Linked DNA regions of Homo sapiens: region 2 is linked to region 1. The links are contacts of gene promoters, found by promoter capture Hi-C in human tissues and cell types (Jung and others, 2019). All regions are on one chromosome and are shown on one strand. Each heading gives the region's core, a stretch centred on a gene start or on the middle of the fragment in contact. The rest is flanking DNA. Distances are from core to core; before and after follow the strand shown. Region 1 holds the start of SIN3B (SIN3 transcription regulator family member B). Region 2 overlaps TMEM38A (transmembrane protein 38A).

Region 1 (3,378 bases), core at 625-3,124:
TTCTGAATAACAAAGAGGCATGACAGTACTTCTGGCAAAGGAAATGGTGAGTGCCAATGCTTGGGACCAGGAAGCAGCCAGGTTGGTCAGGCAATTGTGTGAAGTTCTGCACAGAGGCAGGCAGTTTGCTTGGAAAATCCTGCAGGAAAAGGTTCCTAAGGACCAATTCTGACAGCCTGCAATGTAGGTGCTTAGATTTCATCTCATTAGAAATAGGAAGACCTTGGAGGTTTGGAAGGAGTGGTGGAAAAAGTGGAGTTTTTTGTTTTTCTGTTTTTTTTTTTTTAAGAGATGAGATGCTCTTTAAAAAAAAAAAAAAAAAAAAGCACTGCTATGCTTCCCAGGCTGGGGTGTGCAGTGGCAAGATCATGGCTCACTGCAGCCTTGAACTCTTGGGCATGAGCAATCCTGCCTCAGCCTCCCGAGTAGCTGGGACTAAACGTGTGCACCACCACGCCCAGCTAATTTTTTCATTTTATTTTATTATTTAATTAATTAATTAATTAATTTTTTGAGACAGAGTTTTTGCTCTTGTTGCCCAGGCTGGAGTGCAATGGCGTGATCTTGGCTCACTGCAACCTCCGCCTCCCGGGTTCAAGCAATTCTCTTGCCTCAGCCTCCCGAGTAGCTGGGATTACAGGCATGCGCCACAAAGCCCGGCTAATTTTGTATTTTTAGTAGAGACGGGGTTTCTCCATGTTGGTCAGGCTAATCTCCAACTCCAGACCTCAGGTGATCTGCCCGCCTCGGCGTCCCAAAGTGCTGGGATTACAGGCGTGAGCCACGGCGCCCAGCCAATTTTTTCATTTTCTTTTTCTTTTTTTCAAGGCCCGGCTAATTTTTTGTATTTTTAGTAGAGACGGGGTTGCACCGTGTTAGCCAGGATGGTCTCTATCTCCTGACCTCGTGATCCGTCCGCCTCGGCCTCCCAAAGTGCTGGGATTACAGGCGTGAGCCACCATCCCCAGCCTAGAGTTCTTGATAGTATCAGGGCTGAGAAAGTACCAGAGTTAGAGCCAGGTGGGGTGGCACTAAAAGTACAAAAAATTAGCAGGGCGCAGTGGCGGGCGCCTGTAGTCCCAGCTACTCAGGAGGCTGAGGCAGGAGAATGGTGTGAACTCGGGAGGCGGAGCTTGCAGTGAGCGGAAATCGCGCCACTGCACTCCAGCCTGGGCGACAGAGCGAGACTCTGTCTCAAAAAAAAAAAAAAAAAAAAAAAAAAAAAAAGAAAGTACCAGAGTTAGGAGGCTCCTAAACTGGTCCAGATGGGAAGTGACGGGGCCAAGGATAGGGAAGTGAAGATGGGAGGAGTAGGACTAACTTAAAGGCCATTTAGCAAAAATTCACCACGCAAGGCCCTATATTAGGGCGCTGGGGGCTCATACCTCATCGTCCCGTCAACTCTATAAAGCAGGGGCCAACAAACTTTTTCCATAAAAGGCCAGATCGTAAATACTTCAGGGTCTGCAGATCTGTAGGATCTTTAGCAACTACCTACTCTGTTGTAAGGCGAAAGCAGGCAGAGAAGCCAGGTAAACGCGTGGGCGTGTCTGTGTGCTAATAAAACTTTATTCAGGGACCCTCAAATGTGAATTTCACAAACTTTTCACAGGTCATAGACTATTCTTCTTTGGATTTTTCCCCCGGCTATGTAAACATGTAAAAATAATTCTGAGCTTGCGGGGCCGGACAAAGTAGGCGGCGGGTCTTGGCTCGCCTACCCCTGCTATATAAATCATTAATTATGATACCAATCTTAAGGAGAAGGTCTTCAGAAGAGTCCCTCAAAGAGCACCGCCCCTCAACGTCATCAAACCCCGCCTCCAAAGGCGGAGGCTGCGCATGCGCGGCAGGACCTCGGGCGGGGGCGGGGCGGGGCGCAGCTCCGACTTCGGACATGGCGCACGCTGGCGGTGGCAGCGGTGGCAGCGGTGCCGGCGGCCCCGCGGGCCGGGGGCTGAGCGGCGCCCGCTGGGGTCGCTCGGGCTCCGCAGGCCACGAGAAGCTGCCGGTGCACGTGAGTGGCGTCCCCGCCCTCCCTCGGGGAACCCATCTTCTGGACCCCGCGGGCGGGCGCCCCTCACCCAGGCCCCGCCCGGCCCCAGCCCCACCTCGGCCTCCCCTCTGCACTGCCCCGGACCCCTCACCCCTCACCTCTCACCTCGGCCCTCCGAAAGCCCAGCCCATCCCCTTCCCCTCAGGGACCCCGGCCCCTCGTCCCCTCGTTCCGCGGCCAGGGCCCACCGGGACCCTCCCCCTCTCTGCAGGTAGAAGACGCCCTCACCTATCTGGACCAGGTGAAGATCCGCTTTGGCAGCGACCCTGCCACCTACAACGGCTTCCTGGAGATCATGAAGGAGTTCAAAAGCCAGAGGTACCAGCGGGGCCCCTCTCCACCTCAGGGGACCCCCCTGGGCCGGAATCGGGCCTAGCGGGGTGAGACCTCCCCTCTCCAGCCTGCCCCCTTAGCCGGGTGACCTTGCGCAGGTTGTCCAATCTCTCAGAGCCCTAGCTCCTTCTCGTAACAAAAATGGAAATGGGTAGTACCCACCTTGTGGAGCTTTGTGGGGATTCCTGGAAGCAGGACAGGGATCTGGGGGGAGGCAGGGAGGGCGAGGCCGTGCACACTCATAGAGTCAAATCCTGCCTTGATTTAATATGTTGATTTTTATATTAGTTTTGTTCATGAAAGATTTGGTGGGACCCATTTTGATTTTTATTTTCAAGCGCTGTAAAATGTTATTGTCTTGATGATTGAAATTTTTGGCACCCTCTTCCCCTTTAATCTTGTCCTCAAGATGCTTCTCTGGGCTCACTGTGGTCCCAGGCCTGCTTGGAAGTAAGACGCATAAAATGCTTAGTAAGGGAGCTGGCACACAGAAAACGTTTAAAACACATGAGATGATTTTGCAGGCCCAGAATCAAGGAAGATTACAGATAGATGGGAAACCCTGGGATCATGCCCTTGTTTTTATAGGAGACTCACTGAGGTTTGGAGTGGGTAAGGGACCCACCTAAGTGGCAGAGGTGTCACTAGAACTCAGACCCTCTGACTCAGATTCTTGGAAGTCACATGCTTACCATACTGCTGCCCCCTCTTAGGAAACATGGTGGGGCTGGCCTGGTTTCCTTCCGGGAGCCCAGTGCTAAGGGCTGGGCTGCAATGCAGCCAGAAGGGAGACCCCATCTCTCCCCTCCTATTTTTCTTACACCTTTCCCATTCTTGGCAGTACCATTGGTATTTATGCATTGCAATTGTTTGCTCAGATGGAAACCTGTGTCATAGTCATCTCTATCTGATACAAAATGAGGGAAGTTTTCACATTGCTTAGAGGACTTTGGCCTCCTGCCATTTCTTGGAGTCCAGGCCTTGCGGTT
Region 2 (3,340 bases), core at 129-2,628, 160 kb before region 1:
AAGAGAAACCAAGGAGTATGGAAAGGGGAAAGGACCTGGGCTTTTTTTTTTTTTTTTTTTTTTGAGGCGGAGTCTCACTCTGTCACTCAGGCTGGAGTGCAGTGGCACGATCTTGGCTCACTGCAATTTCCGCCTCCTGGGTTCAAGCAATTCTGCCTCAGCCTCCTGAGTAGCTGGGATTATAGCCATCCGCCACCATACCCAGCTAATTTTTGTATTTTTAGTGGAGACGGGGTTTCACCATGTTGGCCAGGCTGGTCTCAAACTCAAACTCCTGACCTCAAGTGATCCACCTGCCTCGGCCTCCCAGAATGCTGGGATTACAGGTGTGAGCCACTGCGCCTGGCCGTCATCTTGGTCTTTTGACAGTGAAGCAAACTAAGGCTTGGGGGGGCAGGCAGTCACTTGCCCAAGGCCATGCTAGAGTGAGTAGCAGAGCCAGAAGCTAGGCATGTGATGAGGTTTTGCCATGTTGCCCAGGCTGGTCTTGAACTCCTGAGCTCAAGTGATCTGCCTGCCTTGGCCTCCGAAAGTGCTGGGATTACGGGTGTGAGCCACCGCGCCCAGCCGGCATGTGACTTTTATAGCAGGGCACACACATACTGCAAACATGGGCATCTGCCCGTCAGAGCGTAACTCATGCAAACGCTAGGTCCCTACCCCCACTCCCCAACCTCGGTCCCTGGGATGATCCCAGAGGGCACAAGAAAGATCCTGGAAAGAATTCAGTCCCTGGGAGTTATTTTTAGATGCAGAGGTATCCATTTCTGCAAAACATGGGTGCCTCACCCGACCTGGCCTCTGCACAGGCCACCAGCTGCTCTGAGGGATTAACTCTCAGCCAGTTGTGTTTTAAATAGACCCTAGGAGAGGAGCTGAAGCATTTTACCTCATACCCTAGGACCTTGGTCAATGGTAAGACGTAGGACAACCTTGAGAGCAGGGAGAAGCTGCATTTTGGGCTCATAACTCCAGGGTGAGGTTAGAGGAGGGAAAAGCTCATTCCAGTCCTCATCAGGAGTTAGACAAAGAAGCAACGTTCTACTTTGTTTTTTAAAAAAAGAGATGTGGAGAGAAAAAAGTGGCTTGTTCAAGATCACATTGTTAGTTGGTGGGGATAGCGAGGAGAGGGGCAAGTGTATTGATTACTTACTCTAAAACAGGGATGTCCAATCTTTTGGCTTCCCTGGGCCATGTTTGATGAAGAATTATCTTGGGCCTCACATAAAATACACTCACACTAACGATAGCTGATGAGCTTAAAAAAAAATCACAAAAAAACCTCATTTTTTTTTTTTTTTTTTTTGAGGCAGAGTCTTGCTCTGTGGCCCAGGCTGGAGTGCAGTGGTGTGACCTTGGCTCACTGCAACCTCCACCTCCTGAATTCAAGTGATTCTCATGTCTCAGCTTCCCAAGTAGCTGAGATTACAGGCGCATGCCACCACGCCCGGCTACTTTTTGTATTTTTAGTAGAGATGGGGGTTTCACCATGTTGGCTAGGCTGGTCTCGAACTCCTGACCTCAAGTGATCCACCTGCCTTGGCCTCCCAAAGTGTTGAGATTACAGGTGTGAGCCACTGAGCCCGGCCATAAGTGTATCATTTTGCAGCCCAACCTTTTCACTCAGCAGTAAGCTTATGGGACTTGTCTTTGTTGATACATCTAAAACAGAGATTCTCAACCAGAAGGGATTCTGTTCCCAAAGGATAAATTTGGCAATATCTGGAGACATTCTTGGTTGTCACAGCTGTGTGGTGCCACTGTCATCTAGTGGGTGGAAGCCAGGGATGCTGCTTAACATGCTATAATGCACAGAATGCCCCCATAGCAAAAAATGATCTGATCCCAAATGTCAACAGAGCTGAGGTTGAAAAACCCTGATCAAGGTCTAGTTCACTTTTCTTTTTCTTTTTGTTTGTTTGTTTGTTTGTTTGTTTCTGAGATGGAGCCTCCCTCTGTCGCCCAGGCTGGAGTGCAGTGGCGCAATCTTGGCTCACTGCAACCTCCACCTCCCGGGTTCAAGCGATTCTCCTACCTCAGCCCCCTGAGTAGCTGGGATTACAGGCACCTGCCACCATGCCTGGCTAATTTTTGTATTTTTAGTAAAGACAGCGTTTCACCATGTCGGCCAGGCTGGTCTCAAACTCCTGACCTCAAGTGATCCGCCTGCCTTGGCCTCCCAAAGTGCTGGGTGAGCCACTGCACCCAGCCTGGTTCACTTTTAAATAGCTACTCTATGGCACTCCACATTTTGTGGCTTCCCACAGCTTTACTAAGAGACTGTTGATTTCACTTTTCTCCTGTTGCAACATTGTATCAGTGAAACATCTTCCTTCTCTAAGTCTTTGTTTATGGTGCTTGTTTCTTTGGGGTTAATAGCAAGGAGTGGAATTGCTGGGGTCCAGGGGATGCACAGCTTCATATTTCCCTGGTATTGCCAAGTTGCCTCTAACATGGTAATGCCCACTGATGCGCTCACCTGGATTTGTAGGAGAAACTCTGGCATTGATGATTATTTCCCCCTGTGAGGTTGACCAAGCTAAGAAGAACGTAATTCCTTTTACAGAGTAGAGTGCACTACACCTTTCTCAATTAATAAATGGAACAGAGAAGGTCATTGTTGTTACAATGTCACCAGAAATGCGCAGGCCTGCTGGTGGCTCACACCTGAAATCCCAGCACTTTGGGAGGCCAAGGCAGGAGGATCATTTGAAGCCAGGAGTTCAAGAGCAGCCTGGGCCACACAGTGAGATCCTATCTTTACAAAAAAAGAAAAAAAAAAAAGTATAAAAATTGGCCAGGCATGGTGGCACACGTCTGTACTCCTAGCTACTTGGAAGGCTCAAGCCCAGGAGTTTGAGGCTGCAGTGAGCTATGATTGCATCACTGCACTCCAGCCTGGGTGACAGAGCGAGATGCTGTCTCTTAAAAAAAGTGTCCAGGGCCAGGCGCTGTGGTTCATGCCTGTAATCCCAGCACTTTGGGAGGCCAAGGTGGGTGGATCACCTGAGGTCAGGAGTTCGAGACCAGTTTGGCCAACTTGGAGAAACCCCCTGTCTACTAAAACTACAAAACTTAGCTAGGCGTGGTGGCAGGTGCCTGTAATCCCAGCTACTTGGGAGGCTGAGGCAGGAGAATCACTTGAACCTAGGAGGAGGCGGAGATTGCAGTGAGCCGAGATCACACCACTGCACTCCAGCCTGGGCGACAGAGCAAAACTCTTGTCTCCAAAAAAAAAAAAAAAAAAAGTTGGGGGGATCCAACACAACCATGATGACTTTATGTTTGCTAGAATGTAAATTCCATGAGGGCAGGGACCTCACCTGTCTTGTTCATTATT

The links. The method cuts DNA at HindIII sites, captures the fragments that hold promoters and counts their contacts. A contact is called where the count stands out against the background at its distance.
Region 2: a fragment that was not itself captured here is called in contact with the fragment with the promoter of SIN3B in region 1 in 1 of the 25 tissues and cell types used here (dorsolateral prefrontal cortex).

What each region holds. Positions count from the first base shown.
Region 1 is chr19:16,827,524-16,830,901 of GRCh38, forward strand. It overlaps SIN3B (SIN3 transcription regulator family member B), which reads left to right and starts at 1,875. Exons shown (of 19, transcript NM_001297595.2): 1 at 1,875-2,017; 2 at 2,268-2,374. The coding sequence starts at 1,898. RefSeq lists an enhancer at 1,601-2,102 and a silencer at 1,843-2,022. The HindIII fragment of the contact is 27,079 bases long and covers 1-3,378 here.
Region 2 is chr19:16,671,161-16,674,500 of GRCh38, forward strand. All of the region lies in intron 1 of TMEM38A (transmembrane protein 38A), which reads left to right. Among named protein-coding and RNA genes, the nearest start is that of TMEM38A, 12 kb to the left of the region's middle. The HindIII fragment of the contact is 5,585 bases long and covers 1-3,340 here.